Linked DNA regions of Homo sapiens: all the other regions are linked to region 2. Evidence: promoter capture Hi-C in 16 types of primary human blood cells and fetal thymus (Javierre and others, 2016). All regions are on one chromosome and are shown on one strand. The core of a region is centred on a gene start or on the middle of the fragment in contact, and the rest is flanking DNA. Distances in the headings are between cores, read along the strand shown. Region 1 overlaps EYA3 (EYA transcriptional coactivator and phosphatase 3). Region 2 holds the start of DNAJC8 (DnaJ heat shock protein family (Hsp40) member C8). Region 3 overlaps EYA3 (EYA transcriptional coactivator and phosphatase 3). Region 4 holds the start of EYA3 (EYA transcriptional coactivator and phosphatase 3). Region 5 overlaps EYA3 (EYA transcriptional coactivator and phosphatase 3). Region 6 overlaps EYA3 (EYA transcriptional coactivator and phosphatase 3).

The links. Contacts are between HindIII fragments. The CHiCAGO score rates a contact against its expected background, and 5 or more counts as called.
Region 1: a contact is called between a fragment that was not itself captured here and the fragment with the promoter of DNAJC8 in region 2, in 3 of 17 cell types (M2 macrophages, M0 macrophages and M1 macrophages). The highest score is 8.4, in M2 macrophages.
Region 3: a fragment that was not itself captured here is called in contact with the fragment with the promoter of DNAJC8 in region 2 in 3 of 17 cell types (M2 macrophages, M0 macrophages and M1 macrophages); the score reaches 10.7 in M2 macrophages.
Region 4: the fragment with the promoter of EYA3 here is called in contact with the fragment with the promoter of DNAJC8 in region 2 in 6 of 17 cell types (M2 macrophages, M1 macrophages, endothelial precursors and 3 more); the score reaches 13.3 in M2 macrophages.
Region 5: a contact is called between a fragment that was not itself captured here and the fragment with the promoter of DNAJC8 in region 2, in 3 of 17 cell types (M0 macrophages, M1 macrophages and M2 macrophages). The highest score is 8.4, in M0 macrophages.
Region 6: a fragment that was not itself captured here is called in contact with the fragment with the promoter of DNAJC8 in region 2 in 3 of 17 cell types (M0 macrophages, M2 macrophages and M1 macrophages); the score reaches 10.9 in M0 macrophages.

The regions. Positions count from the first base shown.
Region 1 is chr1:27,976,999-27,980,785 of GRCh38, forward strand. EYA3 (EYA transcriptional coactivator and phosphatase 3) reads right to left here. Exons shown (of 18, transcript NM_001990.4): 17 at 1,376-1,476. Among named protein-coding and RNA genes, the nearest start is that of XKR8, 19 kb to the left of the region's middle. The HindIII fragment of the contact is 4,618 bases long and covers 188-3,787 here.
Region 2 is chr1:28,231,015-28,234,862 of GRCh38, forward strand. DNAJC8 (DnaJ heat shock protein family (Hsp40) member C8) reads right to left here and starts at 2,015. Exons shown (of 9, transcript NM_014280.3): 1 at 1,907-2,015. The coding sequence starts at 1,984. RefSeq lists an enhancer at 1,705-2,238. The HindIII fragment of the contact is 12,029 bases long and covers 1-3,598 here.
Region 3 is chr1:28,016,485-28,020,357 of GRCh38, forward strand. It overlaps EYA3 (EYA transcriptional coactivator and phosphatase 3), which reads right to left. Exons shown (of 18, transcript NM_001990.4): 8 at 670-755. Among named protein-coding and RNA genes, the nearest start is that of XKR8, 58 kb to the left of the region's middle. The HindIII fragment of the contact is 5,795 bases long and covers 1-3,873 here.
Region 4 is chr1:28,087,134-28,091,369 of GRCh38, forward strand. EYA3 (EYA transcriptional coactivator and phosphatase 3) reads right to left here and starts at 1,477. Exons shown (of 18, transcript NM_001990.4): 1 at 1,391-1,477. RefSeq lists enhancers at 1,077-1,136, 1,347-1,416. The HindIII fragment of the contact is 6,678 bases long and covers 1-1,597 here.
Region 5 is chr1:27,996,012-27,999,993 of GRCh38, forward strand. It overlaps EYA3 (EYA transcriptional coactivator and phosphatase 3), which reads right to left. Exons shown (of 18, transcript NM_001990.4): 12 at 3,949-3,982; 13 at 1,309-1,367. Among named protein-coding and RNA genes, the nearest start is that of XKR8, 38 kb to the left of the region's middle. The HindIII fragment of the contact is 7,042 bases long and covers 1-3,982 here.
Region 6 is chr1:28,035,465-28,039,559 of GRCh38, forward strand. It overlaps EYA3 (EYA transcriptional coactivator and phosphatase 3), which reads right to left. Exons shown (of 18, transcript NM_001990.4): 5 at 3,375-3,441; 6 at 80-216. Among named protein-coding and RNA genes, the nearest start is that of EYA3, 51 kb to the right of the region's middle. The HindIII fragment of the contact is 3,293 bases long and covers 1-3,157 here.

The DNA of each region.
Region 1 (3,787 bases), core at 1,247-3,746, 250 kb before region 2:
TGAGCCACCGTGCCCAGCCTCAATGGATGTATTCTGTTGTAGATGATTAAAGACATTAGCTCAGAGTTACCAACTCTGCTGATGAGTTGTTCTCTCCCCCATACCCTTCTTCAGACCAGGAAACATTGATGCCTACACCCACTAGTGTCTTTCCCAAAGAGGGCAACAAGAAGCACTTTAGAATCAAAGCTTCATAACATATGTGAAAAAATAAGGATCCCTGAATTGCTACATAAAGTGACAAATGAAAACATGAGATAATAATGCCAACTGATTACCAATCTCATAGTTTATTATAGTTGCTAAGGTTTCCACTTAACTGGATGAAGAGTATCAGGGCAGTTGGTTCTAGCTGGCAACCCAATGCCTCCATGTCTAAGAAATAGAGTTGCTGGAAGAAAATAAATTGGGATAGGGAGGGAAAGAACTTCTACAGATCCATTTAGCAGATGAGGATACTCAAAGAGGATAATTGTTCAAATTCACATAGCTGAGACACAGATGGGATTTTAAGTTCTATAGCCAAGACTCTTTCATCTATTGTTTCCTATATTAAGAAGGGGTGACCTGGGCCAGGCGTGGTGGCTCAAACCTGTAATCCCAGCACTTTGGGAGGCCGAGGCAGGCGGATCACAAGGTCAGGAGTTCGAGACCAGCCTGGCCAATACGGGAAACCCCGTCTCTACTAAAAATACAAAAATTAGTTGGGCATGGTGGCGGGTGCCTGTAGTCCCAGCCACTTGGGAGGCTGAGGAAGGAAAATTGCTTGAACCCAGGAGGCGGAGGTTGCAGTGAGCCAAGACTGTGCCACTGCATTCCAGCCTGGGAGATAGAGTGAGACTCTATCTCAAAAACAGAAAAAAAAAGAAAAAAGAAAAAAAGAAGGGGTGACCTGAAGTTGGGACCTGTATAGTGGTGGGGTTAACATCAGAACAATCTTTCCAGGGCTCAAAGGCAGGAAAGACTTTCTCTACAGAAACAGCTATTGGTTGTACTGTCTGAGAACTTGAAGCATGGAAAAGAAAGAATGATTAGCCTTTTTGCAGTCAAGTCTGATGCTTGAGAAGGCACTGTCTTTGAAGATGGAAGATGGGGCACATCTCAGGTTTAATGATGGGATCCCTGTAGAAGGGCTTAAAGATTTTAAGATTCTTGAGTGACAGGGAGGAAGAGGAAGGGATGGATCTAAAAACTTAAGAGGAAAAACTCCATCTGGAGAAAAAAAAGACCCTCTTTTTCTTTAAAGAAAAATGGGAGAGGAAGAAAGAGAAAATATTATAAATGCATAATAGATTGCTAAGATTTTGTAGTTTTTCCCATTTTTCTCATTACTCGATGTACAACCACATAGACTATTTTTCTTTACCATGGTTACCTGTTTGGCTGCAATTTCTTCATCTCGTCCATCTCCAATCACTACATATGTGACTTTCTTTCCAAACCTTGACACAATTCTCTCAAAGCAGCTCTCCTTACCTGATGAGAAAAAGAAATTTCCTGTTAGAATACTCTTCTCTTCTTTTCAAAACCAAAGAAGAGGGCTGCTGCTAGGTTCACCTGCCTGTGCTTAGGTGGACTAAGTGACAGCCCATGTAGTTTGCTTGCTGGGGAGTAGGGATGGGAGCTAGAGATCCAGTAGACCCTCTGCCCAAAGAATGTGAAGTTGTGCCATTAAAATAACTTGGCCGGGCATGGTGGCTCAAGCCTGTAATCCCAGCACTTTGGGAGACCGAGGCGGGCGAATCACCTGAGGTCGGGAATTTGAGACCAGCCTGACCAACATGGAGAAACCCCGTCTCTACTAAAAAACAAAATTAGCTGGGCATGGCGGCGCGTGCCTGTAATCCCAGCTACTGGGGAGGCTGAGGCAGGAGAATCGCTTGAACCCGGGAGGCGGAGGTTGCAGTGAGCCGAGATCATGCCATCGCACTCCAGCCTGGGCAACAAGAGCGAACTCTGTCTCAAAACAAACAAACAAACAACCCAAAAACTTATTTTAACCTTCACGTTGAGGGTGAAGTCCCTAAGATCTTAGTGTGAGGGAATTTCTATAAATGGGAAAGATTAATAGGTTTAGTGACTTGCCCCTAGATCACAAACAAGCAAGTAGCTAGAACTTGGGGCCCCTGACTCCAAATCTAGGCTCTGGTCATTGTGTCATAATGAATGAATGATTTTTGGGGTGAAATGTTTTAGGGTAGAAAAGAGAAGTGAAAACACAAGGCCCTGATTTCTTGTTAGAAACAATAACAAACAAAAAGCCATTTCCCTCCAATTCTTCATTTCCCAGAAACAGTCCTGGGTATAGGCCTTACGTCTTTCAGTGAGAGAACAGCCCCAGAATAGAACTGAGAACAGTGACCAATAAATATGGCATCAACATTTGTCATATCTGGAACCTCCTTACTTACTATACCTTGTAGTTGTAACCAAGATACTGCATCACTGAAATTGACCTTGGGAAATGGGTGATTTAAATCCATTTCTCAGAACTGCAGACAGTTTTGAGAAACATGGCAGTGTATCAAAACTCAAATCCCATCTGCAACCAACACCTAAAACATACACAGATCATACTGCTGTGGGAAAGATACTTTATTTGTATAAATAAAAAGAAGTTATATCCCTTGCTCTTTTTATCTCCCTGCTTCTGCCACCTTCTTCAGTTAAACAAGGTCCTAACTTTGGCTTTCTTCTTCATCCTGCTCTATTAACCTTCTTGTTCTTTCCCCTTGCCCAACAGAGTGACTTAGCACCAGGGTTCCTGTGTAAATAAGATAAAGCTGCCTCTTCCTCAAGACATTTGACTGCCATCTGCTGGAAAATCACTGTAATATATAAATATACAAATCTAAGATAACTGTAACATAATTGGCCAGAACTTATACTTCCATACGCAGAAGTCCTACTTGGCACAGAAGTTGTGCAGATATGTAACTGCAAATCTTTGACATCCTTAACCCAGTGGCACTTCAAAACAGACGGACTAGTCAACTGGACCAGACACTAGATCACTCTGGGCTCAGCTGGCCACTTACAATACAAGGCTTGGCTTAGGTGCACTTGGGTCTCTTTTAGTGCTAATATTTTACAATAGAATTGTCATGCCTTACATTCATATGAGGGATTCAATCAATGTTTGCTGAGTAAATTCATATTAATCTCACAAATGATTCAGTGGAGGACTGTAGTCCAGGTCTTATGCCTCAATTCAGTTCAAACATTAAACCATTCAACTAATAATAAATTCTTATTATGTTCATGGTGTTGAAGAGTTCTTTAATTCCATTTCACCCATTACAGCTTTACAAACTAAGCCAACCTCCACCAGATGCACAGTCTACTATGATCTGTCTGTAGCAAAAAACTTTTTTAAGTGAGTCAGTTTGACTTTCTTGTAAGACTCAACAAAGGCAGTAACTCATATTTTGAGGATAAGAACACAGACATTTTCACTGTCCTGGCATGCAATGATCAAGGATGAAATATACTCTGTAATGTCTCCTTTAAAAGGATTAAGAGGCCAAGAGAGTTATTAACAGCTCAAAGTAAAGAAGCAGCTCCATGAAAACAGGACTCACTCCAATACAGTTGGTAAAATACTTCCATTTCTGGATATGAGCTTTCCTGTTCAGGAGGATGAGGCCAATGATTAATCAGTTTACCATATGTCAAGCAATTGAAGCTGGTGAACTGTAAGATCAGCCAAATCTTTGGAGAATATTAGTCCCTGGGTTTTCTCTATTAAAATATTTCTAGCCAGGAGCGGTGGCTCAAGTCTGCAATC
Region 2 (3,848 bases), core at 765-3,264:
ATTTTTTTATGAAACGCTTTCTTATACAATAACTTTAGTCCTCATGAAAATGTTTATTTTAAAATTAACTCTCTTGCCAAGCACAGTGGCTCATGCCTGTAATCCCAACACTTTGGGAGGCCAAGACGGGAGGATTGCTTGAGCCCAGGAGTTTAAGACCAGCCTGGGCAACACAACAAGACCCTGTCACAACAAAAAAAATACAAAAATCAGCCAGGCATGGTGGCCTGAGCTTGTAGTCCCAGCTACTGATGTGGGAGAATCACTTGAGCCCAGAAGGCAGAGGTTGTGCATTCCAGCTTGGGCAAGAGTGAGGCTCTGTCTCAAAATAAATAAATTAAATTAAATTAACTCTCTTGTTTTTACAGATGTGGAATATGAAGATCTGCAAAATTAATGTCTTGAACAAATTCAATCCCGGCCAGGCGTGGTGGCTCAAGCCTGTAATCCCAGCAACTTTGGGAGGCCGAGGCGGGAGGACCTTAAGTCAGGAGATCAAGACCAGTCTGGCCAACATGGTGAAACCCCCGTCTCTACCAAAAATACAAAAATTAGCCAGGCGTGGTGGCAGGCGCCTGTAATCCCAGCTACTCGGGAGGCTGAGGCGAGAGAATCACTTGAACCAGGGAGGCAGAGGTTGCAGTGGGCCAAGATCGTGCCACTGCACTCCAGGCCTGGGCAACAAGAGCAAAACTCCGCCTTAGGAAAAAAAAAAAGAATTCAATCCCAGTCCAGTCAGGTTAACTGTCTTCCAAGAATTTTTTTCTTTTTTAGACAGTCTCTCGCTCTGTCACCCAAGCTGGAGTGCAGTGGCGCGATCTCTGCTCACTGCAAGCTCTGCCTCCCGGGTTCACGCCATTCTCCTGCCTCAGCCTCCCGAGTGGCTGGGACTACAGGCGCCCACTACCAGGCCCAGCTAATTTTTTGTATTTCTAGTAGAGACGGGGTTTCACCGTGGTCTCGATCTCCTGACCTCGTGATCCGCCCGTCTCGGCCTCCCAAAGTGCTGGGATTACAGGCGTGAGCCACCGCGCCCAACCAAGAATTTTTTTTTCTATCCTTTTTTTCCTTCTTTTTAAAGAGACAGGGTCTCACTCTCGCCAAAAATGGAGTGCAGTGGTCCGATCATAGGTCACTGCAGCCTCGAGCTTTTGGGTTCCTCCCGCCTGGGCCTCCCAAAGTGCTGGGATTACAGATGTGAGCCACTGTGCCCAGCCCCTTGCAATAATTTAATCTGAGATTCTGACTCCAAACGGCATGCTTTTATTTCATTTATTCATTCATTCACTCAACAAATATTTACTGAGCATCCACTACATACTATGCGCTGGAGATGCGATAGTAAAGGAGGCTCAGAACAAGCCCACTGCTGTCCTAACATACCACCAAGCAAGCTGTAACCTACTGTAAGGCCCCAAACTATTTCACCTCCCTAAAGCTCAGGTTCGTCATCTGTAAAATGGGGGTAATATAATGCCTAACTGGCATGATACACAGTGCCTGGCGTTCGTGAATGGCAGAAACAACCACTAAAACAACTCATTACAAAGGACTAAGAAACGTCTCGGGGGCCAAGAAGGCTAAGTCACTCCCAGGAAGGGCCCAGCCTCTGCCAGCCCCCGACTCCGCGGACTTGGGGCACTCTGCCCGCGCGCCCGCACTATGTTGGACACACTCGCCACCTCCCTCGATAGATCGAACACCATTCCCTCTTTCGTTGCCCCGGGGGATCTCCCAGCAGCTATCAGTGGGAGACGCTCACACACCCCCAGACCCCCGCCACCCCGAAGACTGGACTGAAGGAATCGCCCAACGGTCCAGGCCAGGCGGCCACTGCCTTTGTCCACTGGGAAAGCAGATCCGGGAGCGGTCGCCCCGGTGCCACTACTCCTCACTCTGTGTTCACCTCACTGTAGAAGGTCATAAATGCTTCCTCGGTGCTGCCTCCGCCGCCTGAAGTCCCGCTCTCTCCTGAAGCCGCCATTTCCCCGGCCCAGCCACCACGTGACCCTTCTGCGCAGGCGTCGCCTCACGTGATTCTTACAGGTCCGCTCCTCTAGCCCCGCCTCCCGTCTGAGAGGTTCTTAAAGGGCTCGCAGCCCAGCCAGGCACTTTAAAAGTAGGTGGGCTTTTTAAAATTTAAACGAATTACACATAACATATAATTAACCACTTTAAAGTAAATAATGTGCTTAAGTTATTGTTAGGTAAAAAATAATAAGAAGAATAAAAGAAAAAGTGAATAATTCAGTGGGTTTATTTATTTATTTATTTTTGAGACAGGATCTCTGTCGTCCAGGCTGGAGTCGAGTGGTGCAATCACAGCTCACTGCAGCCTCGACCTCCCAAGCTCAAGCGATCCTCTCACTTCAGCCTCCCGAGTAGCTGGGACTGCAGGCGCGCGCCACCATGCCCGGCTAATTTTATGTACTTTTGTGGAGACGGGGTCTTGCCATGTTGCCCAGGCCTCCCAAAGTACAGGAATTACAGGCATGAGCCACCGCGCCGGACCGGCTCAGCTGTCTTCAGAACATTCACAATGTTCTGCAACCACCATGTCTACCTGGTTCCAAAATAGTTTCATCACCTCAAAAGGAGACTTAGTATCTACTTTTTTTTTTTAGACGGAGTCTCACTCTGTCACCCAGGCTGGAGTGCAGTGGCGCCTCCCCGGTTCCAGAAATTCTGCCTTAGCCTCCCGAGTAGCTGAGATTACAGACAAACGCCACCATGCCCCGCTAATTTTTATATTTTTAGTAAAGCCGGATGTTCACCATGTTGGCCAGGATGGTCTACGATCTCCTGACGTCGTAATCCGCTCGCCTTGGCCTCCCAAAGTGCGGGGATTACAGGCGTGAGCCACCGCGCCTGGCCGAGGAGACCTAGTACCTATTAAGCAGTTACTCCCTATTCGCCCCCTCTCCCCAGTCCCTGAAAACAAGCAATCTGTGTTCTATCTATATGGATTTACCTATTCTGGATATTTCACATAAATGGAGTTAAACAATATGTGAATACGTATTTCACATAAATGGAATTAAACAAAATACCAGGTAGGGCTGCTATTTTCTCAACTAAAATATAATCAATAAAGCCAGTTTTACTATTTCATAGAAAACAAAGAAGGTTTTGTTTTGTTTTGTTTTTTTGAGGCAGAGGCTTGCTCTGTTGCCCAGGCTGGAGTGCAGTGGCATGATCTTGGCTCACTGCAACCGCCGCCTCCCAGGTTCAAGCAATTCTCCTGCCTCAACCTCCTGAGTAGCTGAGATTACAGGCGCATGTCACCACGCCCGGCTGATTTTTGTATTTTTAGTAGAGACGGAGTTAGTCAGGCTGATCTCGAACTCCTGACCTCATGATCCATGCGCCTCGGCCTCCCGAAGTGCTGGGATTACAGGTGTGAGACACCACGCCCAGCCCCAAAGAAGGTATTTTTATAATCATCAATCAGGTAGATAATCTGGCCCAATTCTCTCATCTAAAAAAGAAGAAACAGAGAAGAGAAAATGAGTTAGAGAAGAGCTATAAACTTCATGAGAGTAAAGACTACTGTTGTCTTGTTCACATTCATTAGATGGATGAAGGGAGGTTAAGGTCAAGCTTTCCCTAGACTCCTACTTATCCTTTTTTTTTTTTTTTTTTTTTTTTTTTGAGACAGAGTTTCGCTCTTGTTACCCAGGCCGCAGTGCAATGGCGTGATCTCAGCTCACCGCAACCTCAGCCTCCCGGGTTCAAGCATTCTCCTGCCTCAGCCTCCCAAGTAGCTGGGATTACAGGCATGTGCCACCACGCCTAGCTAATTTATTTTTTATTTTTATTTATTTATTTTTGAGACAGTTTCTCTCTTG
Region 3 (3,873 bases), core at 366-2,865, 210 kb before region 2:
CACCACTGTACTCCAGCCTGGGCGACAGAGTGAGTGAGACTCCATCTTAAAAAAAAAAAAAAAAAAAGCAAAACCAGTATAATAACCAGAATAGTAATGTTAACTGTAGCCAGGAAAAGATCCAAGGAGACAGTGGTGATGATAATTGCTGTAGAGAAAACAAATCAAAACAAAAATAAAAAACTCTAGAACACTGAAGGTGTTACCAGTGATCTCCTAAGCATAGTTAACATAACAGTGATCAAGAATAGACCACAAAAAATTCATAAAGAATGAGTTGTTCATTCCATAAATATTTATCAAGTGCCTTTGATGTAAGTGGCAGGCATTTTTCTATACTCTGGGAATATGTAAATGAACAAAACAGAAAAATAAATCCCTACCTTCATGCAGCTTACATTCTAGTAGGGGCAGAGTAGGAAGTGAAGACAAATACAGTAAAGAAACAGACATAACCATATTCTAGAGAGACCCAGCAGAGGAACAACAAAAACTAGACAGTAACCTAAGATGCCATCCAGGGTCCGAGTTCTGAAGGTATCCAGAAAAAAGTCTCCACAGCCCATACTATTCCTGGTTGTTTCTTAGATAGGCAAATTGACCATGGAAAGAAGAAAGAGCAAGCTGGATGAACTCTATCAAACAGGATGAACAAAGGTAGCATCATACCTGGTTTGAGATGCTGGCTACTGCTGCTGCTGGAATATTGGCAATTGTAGAAGAAGTAGATATCAGGCTGGCATTTGTGCTTGAAGCTAGAGGATTGATGGGGTTAAAAGATATTAAAGATATTATGTAAAAGGTTAGAAGAAACTGAAAATAGATGTGTTTTAAGTGAACAGATTTATAAGGAGATAAACAACATTGGCAAAGGAAACAAACACTCGTTTTGCTTTTTTGTGTGGGATAGCTACATTTACACTTGGTTAAAAACAAAACATTTGAAACATCTTTCTGTTTCAACTTGAGTCTTCAATTCTTCTTATTAAAGGCCTAAAAGGATATATATTCAATTCACAGCTCATACTAATAATATCAATGAAATCACAGCTAAATCCAATTCCTCCAGCCCATCTTCTCCAGAGGCTGAAAAATGACTCACCTGCAATGTGACCTACTGTAAAGCAGTAGAACTCTGGTAAATCTTACACTGTGATATTGTTTGCTGTCACTTGCCCCAAGTTACGCCTTTCCTAATACAACATAATTACATGAGAAATAGAGCTGGTCCTCCAAATTCCAAAGCATTTAGAATTGCTTCTTGAGTTCTACTCAAATAATAGATTACTAATGTGGATCAATAAACACAATGACATAGCATTTAGAGACTTTAACAATGAGCCTGGAAAAACTCAGAAAATATTAAATATTACTCTGGTCAGATAAAAATGTACCTTATATGATACTTGGGCTGTCTTAAGTAATTTGAGGCCAGGTGTGGTGGCTCATGCCTGTATCCCAGCACTTTCGGAGGCCGAGGCAGGCAGATCATTTGAGGCCAGGAGTTTGAGACCAGCCTTGCCAACGTGGTGAAACCCCATCTCTACTAAAAATATAAAAATGAACTGGGTATGGTGGGCACGGGCCTGTAATCCCAGTTACTCAGGAGGCTGAGACATGAGAATCGCTTGAACTCAGGAAGTGGAGGTTGCAATGAGCCAAAATCGCATGACTGCACTACAGCCTGGGTGACAGAGCAAGACTCTGTCTCAAAAAAAAAGAAAAGAAAAAAGAAAAAAAAGAAAGAAAATGCTGATTTCCATTCACATAAAACAATAAAAATAAAGACAAGTAATTTGGGTTAAGTTTTATACTTCTTCTGTCATAGGTTCATTCTACTAGGGTTTTAATCAAAATCTCAATGACTAGCACTAACCAGTGACTTTTCTCAGGTGAACAATGTAACTGATATTATCAGTACTGTTCTCAAACTCCTTGTCCTCATTTATCATAAACACACTTAGACATGGTTCCTACTGCAGGTACACACACCATATGGGTTCACCATCAGGTAGACCTGACTAACTGACTACCTGCCCCATTAACAAAGTCCCCCAGAGAGAAAATTAGTAAGAAAACTTCCATTGAGAACAGGGCAGGAGAACAAATGCAATAGAAACTTAAGTGCTCTGGTCAAAATTAGATAATTTTCATCCCTTTCCCTAAGGGTACTCGGCTTAGAAGACAATCCAGAAGACAGTAAGTTCAGTTACAGCTATTGCTGCAACCCCAGCTTTAAGATGAAGAACCTAGGACAAAGAAGAATTAAAGTAACTTGTCCACAGCAGCAAAAATAATGGAAGATAACCAAAATGACAACTTGGATCTCCCAATTCTTCATCCAGTGCTTCTTCCTCAGGGTCAGCAGCTAAGCTAGGGTTCAAATTCCCTAACTATGGCCAGGTGCGTGGTGGCTCACGCCTGTAACCCCAGCACTTTGGGAGCCTGAAGTGGGTGGATCACCTGAGGTCAAGAGTTTGAGACCAGCCTAGCCAACATGATGAAACCCCATCTCCACTAAAAATACAAAAATTAACCAGGTGTGATGGTGTGCACCTGTAATCCCAGCTATGCAGGAGGCTGAGGCAGGAGAATCACTTAAACTCGGGAGGCAGAGGTTGCAGTGAGCTGAGATCGCGCCACTGCACTCCAGCCTGGGCGACAGAGTGACTCAGTCTCAAAAAATAAATTAAAAAAAATTAAAACAACAAAAACAAAAACAAATTTCCTAACTATCCAGAGTAACTTTATTTTCTATAGCACGTTTTGCTTCAGGGGAACTAAAGGACTCTTAAGGGCTTACTTTCCTAAACATAACAACTAAATGAAATAGGTTTTATAGCTTTACAGAAGGTATTTTCTTTCAACCAATATTCACCTTCTTTCCTACTGTGGCTTAAGCCATCCTTTTTCCTAAGAGGAAGCATCAAAACATGACAATATACAGGGTAACTGACTCTGTAAATGGTTTTAACCATTCTTGTAGGAAAAGAATTTTGAATGGTTTCCAGATTTTGTTATCAGTACATTATCCTAGGCAGGCCTGCAATAAAACTGAACACAGGTGATTTAAGGTGGGAAATAAAATAAAGAATTGATTTAATCATTTATCTTCCCCAGCAAGTCCATTTTTAGTTCAGTTTTCTTCTGGCCCTGGTCCTGGCATACAATCCTCTTTTTCACCTATTGATCTTTAATTCTGTCCTACCTTCTCCATATCCTTTTTTTCTTTTTTTTGAGATGAGTATCACTCTTGTTGCCCAGGCTAGAGTGCAATGGTAGTCTCGGCTCACTGCAACCTCCGCCTCCCGGGTTCAAGAATCCTCCTGCCTCAGTTTCCCAGGTAGCTGAGATTACAGACATGCACCACCAAGCCCGGCTAATGCTGCATTTTTTTTAGTAGAGATGGGTTTCACCATGTTGGTCAGGGTGGTCTTGAACACCTGACCTCAGGTGATCCACCCACCTCAGCCTCCCAAAGTGCTGGGATTACAGGCATGAGCCACCACGCCCGGCTACTTCTCCATAACTTAATAATGGTGGGAGGTACAACTCAGTCATATCTGATCTCTATGGGGGAAAATGTACTCTGATTGACAAGGTGGTTTTACAAATCTAACAATTTTCAAACCACTTAATGAATTGTACTGGAGGTAAAATGGTAGACCTTAAAAACAACTAGCCATAAACTCTTATTATATCCCGGCTAGAAAGTTTAATGGCTTGATTAGCTAGTTGATAACTCTGAGTTTTTAACAAGTACTGTATTAAAATCACAAATTTCTCTGAGCAATAGTTGGCTTTTATTATAGGGGAACTTGGTCTGCTGACCCAGAAAGTTCATAGGGCTTAATAACACTTTTTTCTCCAACT
Region 4 (4,236 bases), core at 227-2,726, 140 kb before region 2:
GCTAGATATACACTATAAACATCGGGAAAAAATAAAGATTACCCAAGCCTATACTCTAGATCACAAAATTTGGGAAAGGGAGCACTAACCATTATTAAATGCAATTCCTTCATGTTATAAATGACTTTAAACCTCTAGGGAAATTTAAGAAAGGTGCCCTAAATCTCAAAATGAGAAAATGATAGTTTTACTACAAAGGTGGAAATGGTAAGGAAAAAAAAATACAAAAGTTAGAAGAATATTCTAAGTAATGTACTTCTAAGTAATGTAATTCTAAGTAAAGTCTGGCTAATGAAGGAAGAGGAAGACAAATAGAAAACTTAATACAGTAAAAATGAAAAAATGCATATGTGCATACTAAGTTTAAAGATTACTTTGAAATTACTATAGTGAACTCTTCAGCAGACCACTTTTCGGAAACAACACAATAAATTCATAAATCTGGGGCTAATGATCTCTCCACAAATTCTGTCCTCTATCATCACAAGTGTCCTGTAAGAAGCGTCCATGCCGAAAACAGAGCTGAACGTCCCAAAATATTGGCGTTTTTGCCTCAGCTGTGCACATCCATTCTCATGGGAACACAAAACTGACAGAACTTCTTCATGACTTGTCAATTAACAAGATCGCGCCAGCCCAACTGCTAGCAGTACCGTGTGCCTGCCACCTGTTAGCTGCTCTTGAGAGAGCCCCAAAACTGAGGTAAAGCGAAGAACTAGGAACGCCTTTGTTGTACCCTAACTATGGAAGCTACCAGAGTTCAGTCTAACCCGGCGCCTTAAGGCAAAACTTCCCCCAGGCTGGGGAAGTCTTCCCATTTCGGGGCTTTGGCAAAGCTCTCCTCTAGCTAAGGACAGGCAGAAGAACCCCAGGAGAAGCACTGTCACCTACTGGTCCCAGGAGGAAGGATCAAAGCTGAAGAAAGTTGGGGGACAAGGAACTAGGACCCTAGGGAGAGGCTCAGTTTCTCGTGGTGAAGAGTGAGCACAATGAGAAGCTGGGCCGTCTCGCTAGGTGAAAGAACGCTGAGATCCCAGATCAGGGGTAGGGGAAAAGAGGTTCTAAAAGAAGGGAGGAGGAGAAAAAAGGAGAGGCAGTGGCTGAGAGAAGCGCTGAGGCGTAAGGCAAGAAACCGAGGTTGGAAAAGGACTGATGAGGCTGAGGAAAAACAGCGAGGCGACAGAGGCACGGAAGCGCGAGAAGGCTAAGCTGAGGTGAATAAGGCGAGGCCAGCGTGAAGGAAAGGGCTGAGGTGAGTGAAGCACTGCAGTGACAAGGGACAGGCGAAGAGACTCCCACCCACAAGGACCGAGGCAGAACTCTAGACCCATCCCCCTTCACGCTGTGCTCGCCCGGCTGCGCTCAGACCCTGTTGGCAGCTGAGACTCACCCAAAGGCTGTAAAAGCCCCACAACAGGACATGGAGATCAGTCCAGACCCACAGTAGAACCAATCGAGCGGAGGAAACCGCGGCGTTAGCGTGACCCGGATGCGCATCGCTAGGAACCGGAAGTAAGCGGCCAGAGTCACCTCACAATCCACACCTCGTTCCACTAGAAACCTCTGGGCGCATGTGTTGAGTCTGACCGGGCGGGGAAGCTTTTAGGCTCCGCCCACTCCGCCGGCCCGGCGAGCCACGCCCATGGCCACGCCCCTCTTAGTGCCTCGGAGACAAGCAGCTTCTGGGTGAGCGCTAGGCAGTCCTGACGGTACTACAGCCTTCACTTTTAAGGAGGTCTTTAAAAATGCGCGTAATCCCTACCTGGCTAAAAGGAACGTAAGAAGTGTTGGGTGCATTTGGTAGATTTAGAAAAACTGGGAAGGAGAATGAGTGGGAAGTTTTGGAAGACATTTGGGAGGCTAGCCCAAGGTGATCTTTTTTTTTTTTTTTTTTTGAGACGGAGTTTCGCTCTTGTTGCCCAGGCTGGAGTGCAATGGCGCGATCTCGGCTCACTGCAACCTCCGCCTCCCGGGTTCAAGCGATCCTCCTGCCTCAGCCTTTCGAGTAGCTGGGATTACAGGCATGTGCCACCACGCCCGGCTAATTTTGTAGTTTTAGTAGAGACGGGGTTTCTCCATGTTGGTCAGGCTGGTCTTGAACTCCCGACCTCAGGTGATCCGCCCGCCTGGGCCTCCCAAAGTGCTGAGATTACAGGCGTGAGCCACCGCGCCCATCCCTTTTTTTTTTTCTTTTTTTGAGACAGAGTCTTGCTCTGTCGCCCAGGCTGGAGTGCAGTGGCGCGATCTCGGCTCACTGCAACCCCCGCCTCCTGGGTTCAAGTGATCCTCCCACCTCAGCCTCCCGAGTAGCTAAGACTACCGGCGCGCACCACCACGCCCGGCTAATTTTTGTATTTTTCGGTAGAGACGGGGTTTCGCCATGTTGCCCAGGCTGGTCTCCAACTCTGGAGCTCGGTTGATCCCTTGGCCTCCCAAAGTGCTGGGATTACAGGCGTGAGCCCCAAGGTGATCTTTTTATCCCCAAATTTAGTTTATTCTTAATATTATATTAGGCTTACAATTCACTTCGTGCACACTGTTTTCGGAAGCAAAATTCTTAAATGTTTCGTTAATTTTAAATTACAACCCAAGTATGGGCTAGAAGCAAGGTTGAATTCAGGCTTTGTGGAGACTTGACGTTTATTCAATTTGGGGGCCCTCTTTAAAATAATCAAGGCCAGGCACAGTGGCTCATGCCTGAAATCCTAGCACTTTGGGACGCCGAGGTCGACCGGTTGCTTGAGCCCCGGAGTTGGAGATCACCTGGGCAACAAAATTAGACCCTGTCTCTACAAAACAAACAAAGCAAAACAACAACAAAAAAAACCCAGAAAAATTAGCCAGGTGTGGTGGCACGCACCTAACTGAGCCCAGGAGGTAGAGGCTGCGGTGAGTTATGATTATGCCACTGCACTCCAGCCTGGGCAACAGAGCGAGACTGTCTAAAAAAAAAAAAAATCCAAAATTACAAATACAATATTAGATATAAAAGTGAACCTTTTATAATGAGAAAAATTACAAACATTTTTATTAGCTCACAAATACCACGAATAACAAAATCCAGAAAAAAAACTATTTTTTCTACATTTTTTGACTGTATATTTGATCACCTCTTCCGATGACAACAATGTACTAAGCAACATCATTTACTAAGATCCTTAACTCCTCTCTCATATCCCACATGTACTCCATCAGCAAGTTCTGCAAGATTTGCCTTCAAAATCTGTCCAGAACCTGACCATTTACTGCCTCCGTTGGTATAAACCAGTCAGTCAGTGACTGTGAGTGCCCTATTTATACTCTTGCCTTCCCACAATCTTTTTTTTTTTTTTTTTTTCAGACAGAGCCTCCCTCTGTCACCCAGGCTGGAGTGTACTGGCCTGATCTTGGCTCAGTGCAACCTCTGCCTCCTGGGTTCTCCTGCCTCAGCCTCCTGAATAGCTGGGATTACAGGGGCCCGCCAGCACGCGCGGCTAATTGTTATATTTTTAGTAGAGACGGGGTTTTGCCATGTTGGCCAGACTGGTCTTGAACTCCTGGCCTCAAGTGATCCACCCGCCTCAGCCTCCCAAAGTGCTGGGATTACAGGTGTGAGCCTCCACGCCCGGCCCCCACAATCTATTAATATAGTAGCAATGGGCTCCTGTTAAAACCCTAATTAGATCATATCCTTCCTCCAATGCATTCCTATTTCAGAGTAAAAACCAAAATCCTTACATTGGTCTACAGGACCCTCAAGATTTGACACCTCCAGTACAGCTCTGCTCTAACCTCAACTCCTACTCCTTCTGTCATCCTTCCCCTTAAAGCACATTGGCCTCTGCCATTCCTCAAAACTACAGGTAGGCCCAGGGCCTTTGTGCTTTTTAATCCATCTGCCTGGAGTGCTCTTCCCCCAGATACCTGCATCATTCATCCGCTCACCTCATTTACATCTTTATTCACATGTCACTTTCTCAATGAGATCTTCCCTGACACTACATTAAAAATTGGAACACTACCATCCTCTTTGTACTTTCCCATCCAACAAGTTGCTTGTAAATTTGGCTTAGTGTCTCTCTCCCCCTGCCAGAATGTAAGTTCCATGAGTCCATGGATGTTTGTCCGATTTGTTCACGGATGTTTTTTCAGCACCAGAATGGAGCCTGGCACACTGTAGGCACTCAGTAAATGTTTGTTGAATGAAGGGCTAAATTGCTCATTTACTTTGGTTTTCCTGATCTGAAACCCTGCAAA
Region 5 (3,982 bases), core at 602-3,101, 240 kb before region 2:
ACAGGCGCATGCCACCACGCCTGGCTAATTTTTGTATTTTTAGTAGAGACGGGGTTTCGCCATGTTAGCCAGGCTAGTCTCGAACTCCTGACCTCAAGTGATTGGCCCGCACTGGCCTCCTGAAGTGCTGGGATTACAGGCGTAAGCCACTGCATCTGGCCATTTAACTGTTTTAAGGTACTAAACTCTGGAGTAATTTGTTGCATAGCAACAGATAATACAATTATACAAACTAGGAAGGATTAATATTTCATAAGTAAAGATCTAAAAATGACTGAACAACTTGGTTCAATCAAAAGTTAAAATAGATCCCAATATGCTAAGAGTGAGATTCTGTGCTTAAGAAAATATAGCTGCTAAGACATGATAAGTAATTACTGGTTAGCCACACGTATAAGAGGAAAAAAAACAACTGGGGTTCAGAGCAGAATATAAACTCTTCAGACCAGACTTTTCCCTGAAAAGAACAGTAAAGTGTCATAAGAATTGTGCCCTCCATGACCATGTGACACCACAACATGTACAACTGGATGCTGTACCTGAAAGTGAAACCTTCCAATATTCTCAGCTCTACCTGACTAGGTCCTTATTAAGGTGGTATGTCCAGTTCTACTCCGTATTTGAGAACTGGTGGATAGAACACTGAATTTTGGGGTAGTTACTGGGAAGAACATTTTACTTATAAAAAGGGATAAACATTCAAACAAACTAATATGAAAAGATGTGACAGGTTTTTTTCTTATAAGTCTTTAAGCTAGATAAATTTTTGGATCTTTCTTAGCTAAGGCTAGTGGGCCAGAACAAAGAGGAATGAGGAGCCTGAGCAAGCATTTTGCCACTGAGATCTCCTTGGTTTAACTTTCACTATAATAAAATGTGGAAGACTACCTTACAGAGATGGGATCTCCCTGTGTTGTCCAGGCTGGTCTTGAACTCCAAGACTCAAGTGATCCTCCTGCCTCGCGCTTCTAAGATGCTGCAATTACAGGTGTGAGCCACTGTGCCTGGCTTGCTACCCATTCTTTAATGTTCTGCTTTAATGCTACTCCACTGAGAAACCTCTCCAGTGTTGGCACTACCCACTCCCTATCCCAACAGAATTCTTTCTTCTCGTGCTCCACGGCATTTTCTATTGTCACCTTCTCACACTATACATCACGGTTAACTATGTTTGTTTCTATGTCCTCTAACAGGTTGTGAGCTCTTTCAGAGATATATTCTATTTATCTTTGTTTTCCTCCAAACCTAGACAGACAGATCTTGCACATAACAGGTGTACTGGTGTTCAAGAATCATTATGTTTATCACCTCAAGTCTTGGCCATTGTCATCAGAAGCCACATCTTCCACATGTACCTGGTCACACTCCTGTTAAAAGACAAAACATATTACTTCAGTCCAGGGAGTAGAAGTGATATTACCATCATGACATACTATAAAAAGACCATATACAGTGGCAGGATAATGAAATGCCTTATGGAATCTCTTATGTGTGGGTGATCACTCTCACACCCCTTGCTGTCCAATTCCTCTTAAGACCTGATTCACATCCCAGTCTTCATGAGTTCTGTAACTATCCCATCCCTTGTTTCTACTCCTATCTCAATATTTCATTTCTCCAACAGCTCATGGGAATAAGCACAAGCTCCCTTACACTTCAAATGTTCTTATGTCCTACACCAGACTGTAAGTCCTATTACAATGCAGGTCTCTTGGGGCAGGAGCCACATCTCACATCTCCTTTGCATCTCTCTGATCTAGTCCAGTATCCTTACGTAGGTTGTGCCCAATAAATTTTTATAGACAAAACAGACGCTGGTAGTGTGGTATCAAAACCGAGAATGACTGAAATTTCTAACTTCAAAGTCAGGAGTTAGAAGAGGTCATCTAAATCAATCTCCTCATGTTTTAAAAGTGAGGTGAAATGATTTTCTCAAAGTCATACAATTAGTGAGTGGCAGAAAGAGACTAGAAATAACCCAGGTTTTCTGCTTCTTTTTTTCCCCCGCTTCTAATCCAAGGTTCTTTCCACCAAGCCCATGCTACTACTGACATAAAATGCCGCCCACTACCTAACTGATGGATGTACTCCTCTGATACCACTTAGGGTACCTGCATCAGAATCCTCTGGGGAAGTTTTTTAAAAATGCATATTCTTGGGTCCATCCCAGACCTACTTGAATCAGAATTTCTGAGAGTGAAGTCCTAGAATCTCCACTTTTAAGAAGCTCCCCAGGTGATTCTTATGCCCCCTAAAGTTGAGAAGCACTGACCTGGGGGGCAGGAACACATTCAGGTCAAATTCTTCACAGAACTTTCAGTTCCTGAGTGAGGACTATGTCTAGAAAATCATTACAAATACAATTGGCAATAATTATTGGCATGTAGTAGGTTTTCAATAAATGTTTGCTGAATAAAAACTATGATGTCCTAATTTATCAACATATGAAGTTGAGGGAAGATTAAAGCATTATGGAGTTTAGACAAAAGTACTGGAGCTCGGGGCACTATTAATTTATTGAAGAATTGTCTGTTGAGTAGAACAGACGTTTATTTTAAAAGAGATGGGATTACTTTGTGTTGGCTGGGTGCAGTGCTCACGCCGGTAATCCCAGTACTTTGGGAGGCCAAGGTGGGAGGATCACTTGAGCTCAGGAGTTTGAGACCAGCCTGGGCAATACAGTGAAACCCCATCTCTATTACTAAAAAAAAAAAAAAGATTAAAAAAATGATTACTTTGTGTTTATAAAATACTATCTTTTTATTTTTTATTTTAAAGACAGAGTCTCTCTCTGCTGCCCAGGCTGGAGTGCAGTAGTGCAATCTTTGCTCACTGCAACCTTCCCCTTCTGGGTTCAAGCAATTCTCCTGCCTCAGCCTCCTGAGTAGCTGGGATTACAGGTGTGCGCCACCATGCCCGGCTAATTTTTGTATTTTTGGTAGAGACGGGGTTTCACCATGGTGCTCAGGCTGGTCTCGAACTCCTGACCTCAAGTGATCTGCCCGCCTCGGCCTCCCAAAGTTTTGGGATTACAGGCATGAGCCACCACGCCCAGCCTATAAAATCCTATATTACTTTACTTTAAAATTTTCACTATTTTTAAAACTAGGTAAAACATGTACTACACAGCTCAAAATTCAAAGGACATGAAGTGAAAAGTGTGCTCCCTCCCACCTTTGTGTCCTGGCAACTCATCCCTCTCCATAGATGGTAATCAGTGTTGGTAGTTTCCTGTGTAGGATGACTGCATAACTGAGGCCCAGAATGGGAACATAACTTTCCCTATGTGAGATTCACATTCTGGTCTTCTGACTCCCTGTCCTGTGCTCCTTCTGCTACACCATGTTCACCTTAAAGGTGAACTCAAATGTCAAAGCCAAAAAATTTCACCATGAAGCTCTTAGTGTTTCCTGGTTTTTCTGGCACCTAACTATAAAATTATTCTGAATATCAAGGTTAACCTACATATGAACAACAAATATGTATAAAATATGATGGGTTAGAGTAACCATTTATAGATTCGACAAATCAGGAGACTATCCTTTAAGAATGTAAAATGGAAGAAAAGTCAAAACATAATTGAGAGTACAAATAATCAAACTCACTTTATATATATTATTTAATATAGATTATTAAGTTAGAATATTGGTTTATATGTCAGTGTTTTGCCTGATGGGTTGGCCTTTCCCCTAGTGCTAGATCACCTCCAAATAAACTAACAAAAATCAAATTTTTGAGCCAATAAAATTGAATGTCAGAACCAAAACTGTGGTGACCCAACCACAAGTACTATTTCTCTAAGACTATGTATGTATGCCTTAGTGGCCAGCTGGCCTCTCCATATCCACCCTATCTAAACACATATCTTCTAATATAATAAGCAAAAGCTCTAAATAGTTATTGAATGAAGTGTCTCAGTGAAGCACAGAAACAATTTAAAATGCTTACCTCTAAGTCATTGAAAAATAGATGAGTATCAGCC
Region 6 (4,095 bases), core at 261-2,760, 200 kb before region 2:
AGAATGATGCATGGCTGATCAAAGTTTCTGCGGAATAAAATCAACATTCTTAGAAATTGTTTACAATACAGTGCCTTACCAAAAGGAGGTAGTCCATACGTTTGGGTTGCCTGAGGGTAGACAGCATAGGGTTGAGTCTGCTGTAGTGTCTGGTATTGAGTCTGTCCAGGGTAAGCAGTTTCCGAAACAGGAACTGAGAGAATATGTGCATAAGGTCTGGAAAATTTCATGAAAACAAAAACTTTTGTGTGATTTACTTTAGTAACGAAAAATAGGTAAAATAGCTACCACCACTAACAGCAAAGAATCTGCAACAAGGAGACTAATCTTCCACATAAAATGGCTCTTTTCAAAAATTTTTTATTTTTGAGACAGAGTCTTGCTCTGTCGCCCAGGCTGGAGTGCAGTGGCATGATCTCAACTCATTGCAGCCTCTGCCTCCCCGGTTCAAGCAATTCTTCTGCCTCAGCCTCCCAAATACCTGGGATTACAGGCACCCACCACCATGCCTGGCTAATTTTTGTATTTTTAGTAGAGACGGTGTTTCACCATGTTGGCCAGGCTGGCCTCGAACTCCCGACCTCAAGTGATCCACCCACCTTGGCCTCCCAAACTGCTGGGATTACAGGCGTGAGCCACTGCGCCCGGCCTAAAATGGCTCTTATGATCAGAAAGTAGAAGTCTTTCCTCCTTTCTACGTTCTCCTATCATCAACCCAAGGAACAATTTTATGAAAAATTTAATAGTTCCAAACATCCCTCCAAGTTCCAATTATCCTACAAACATTTCTAGTGTGCTACATGCATGGCCCTATGTGAGACACAAGGATGGATTAAACTTATTCATGCTCTTATGCCTACATCTAGAATAAAATCCTAATATAATAGAAAACTAAGAGAACAAGATTGGCAATTGGCTCTCATTCTCCACCCTGCCCCTTGAACCAAACTAAAGTTCTGAGAGGGAAAGTGAGACTGGAAAAGCGGGTGAGGCTGGTGGAGAAAAGGCAAGCAAACACATCAAAAAACGGAAGTAGAGATGGGTTCCAATATCCTCAAATCAAGTCTACAAAACAGAACCCAGGTAAGTAACAAAATCTGGGAAGTTCCAGACAGGACTCAATCTCCTCAATGATATTTAAGTCAGGGCATACTGCCACTAGTTGGTGCCACCATATCAGGGATAGCTAGAGATTTCAGCAGTGAAACTCCTGGGACTTTACACTAGCTAGCAGATATAATTGTTTCATCCATGATATTGCACTGAATTTTTAGATACCAATTATCTCATTTGGTGAGTTACACTGTATATATAAGTAAAAAAGAAAATGCTATTTGTACCATGTAAGCATAATAAAATATAGCAGGGGGTGTTTTAAAGGGGAAATTTTTTTTTTCACCTTTGGGGGAAGAGGAAAATGAAGAAAGGCCATAAAGAAGTGATATACTAGCTGAGCAGATAAGAGGCACAGAACTGGGAGAGAAAGGGTGTTCTAGGACAAGAAAAAAGTCCTGGAGGGTATAGAGTAAGGAAAGCAAGGGCTTCGGCCTGCAAAGAGCACAGATAACTGAGGGAAGTATATTAAGAGAAGTAGCGAGAGAAAGGAAGCAAAGACCTTGAATGCCAGGCTAAAAGGCAAATCTGAAACTGAGAGCCACTGAAATTATTGAGCAAAGAGTGACAAGATCAGAGCTGTTCTTTAATAAAGATTATTTTGACACTGCTTTGTAAAATGGTTTAGAAAGGGAGGAGAAACTGGAAATGGAGATCCAGTTAAAAAACAGTTCAGATAAGTAATAAAGAGGTCTGAATTAAGATAGAATAATTAAGATAGCTAATAAGGAATTCTGAATGTAGCAGGTATGCAAATACTTTCTGAATGAATAAATGAATTTGGAATCTGCAACATATTAACATCTCAGTACATTCTAAAAAACTGAATTTAAAAATAACTATTCTTCTTAGCCAGATCTGAGTCCAGGAAATAGCTCAGGTTAGAGTTGTTACTCAAGTCACATGGGAATGATTTAAATCTTAGTGACCTTAAATGGATTAATCTCCAGATATGGTAAAGACCATAATGTCCTTTTTCATGCAGAGTCTTTGTAGCCCAAAGCTCAAATGTGTTTTCACATTTAGTATCTAATTTCTTCATAATAATCTCAGAGAATAGGTTCAGTTATTTCACAGAAGAAAGTCACATGAAAATGATTAGCCCAAGGACACCATTAGTGTTAATACCAGATTAAAAATTAGAAGAACTCATTGGGTTGACTTTTTAATTAGTTTATTTTTTAATTAATGAAAATTCAAAAGGTAAAAACAGATATAACCAGGGAAAAGAAAGACAGTTTCCTTTTTATAACAGCCCCATAAAGTATCTCTTGCTTTTGTTACCAATTTCTTTATGTATCCAGCAGCTGTAAGCACATAAGCACATATCCTGGCTTAATAAATGCACTTGTATGTGTCTTTGTATGCATAGGTCCACTCTTTATTACGCACAATAGGTAGCTTGGTATACACACTGTTCTGCACCTACCCACTTTGGAGATGAAAAACCTGGCTGATATTAATGCTGATCTTACCCCATGAAGGCCCAAAACATAACCTCTTAGTGACTAACCCACCAAACCTGTCTAACTTCAAGCCCGGTTCTACTCTGAGGACATTCCTCAATCAAGAAACTGAACACAGGCTGGGCGTGATGGCTCACGACTGTAATCCCAGCACTTTGCGAGGTAGGCAGATCACCTGAGGTCAGCCGTTTGAAAACAGCCTGGTCAACATGGTGAAATCCCATCTCTACTAAAAAATACAAAAATTAGCTGGGCGTGGTGGCATGCCTGTAGTCCCAGCTATCCGGGAGGCTGAGGCAGGAGAATCACTTGAACCCGGGAGGTGGAGGTTGCAGTGAGCCAAGATCGTGCCACTGCACTCCAGCCTGGGCAACAAACAGAGTGAGATTCTATCTTAAAAAAAAAAAAAAAAAAAAAAAAACCGAACACAGATTGGACTGAGAAATTCAGTCTTGTTTTTATTAATCTGTATGCTATATGTCAAGGTACAGGACAGAGAAAATGATCAGAGGTCAATCAATGATATGGTTGATCACTAACACTATTTTGCATGTTCAGTGCCTACTCATTTTAGAGTAAGCTTTTGTGTAAAATGATCCATTGCAGACACCATCTACTTTTTAAAAGGATACTACATAGACTATATTTAGAGGGAATTAAAAATTGGAATGACGATAGAATAAGAGAGGTAAAAATAATTTAAATATCTATTATTTTAGAGGAAAAATAATATTAAATTTTGCAATGAATCTACAGAAAAAGCATATGCATTTTGGAAATAATTATTCAACTTACTTTGCAGAATACATTTGTGAGGTATAATCATTGGATGAGCGAGGGATGTAATCGGTGCATGTCATAACTGAAAGAAAGATAATATCACCAGGTTAAAAAGTTAGAACATTTCGAAAATGGAATGGGAAAACTGCACATCTCACTGTATAGTCTTTCAAACTAATTAACAGAATACAGCTTGGACACCAGATAGAAAGACTATGTGGTAGAAAATATCTCACTTTTTTGTTTATACATGTGTTTATAGACTTCCAGAGGCAGTTAAAAAAAGAAGGGTGGGGTATGGAAAAGAGCTGAAGGTTGGTAAGGATCTCTACCTTTACCCATTACTGATCTAAAATAATAGATGAAGCAACCTTCTAAGCTTTCGGCTATGCTGATAGGCAAACTTAAAAAGCAAGCTTTATGTCTGGAAAACCACATTATTCTACTTCAGCTTATTTGTTCTTTGAGTGCTTACTATATTGAGTAAAAGCCTTAAGAATGACTTGCAGGAAAACAGATTTGGGGGAGGCACCCAATCTTATTTTAAAACCACTGCTACTGCTATGCATAATCAACAGCAGAATAGATGCAAGTATGCTTCTATACTATTATTTTTTCTGTTTTGTAGTGAAGGCTTTAAGTTTGGCAAATCACAGACAGACGTGAGGAACTGATGTGATACTCTGATGAACTCTCAAAGACTTTTCCAGCTATTGTCCTCTTGACCCCCATGACT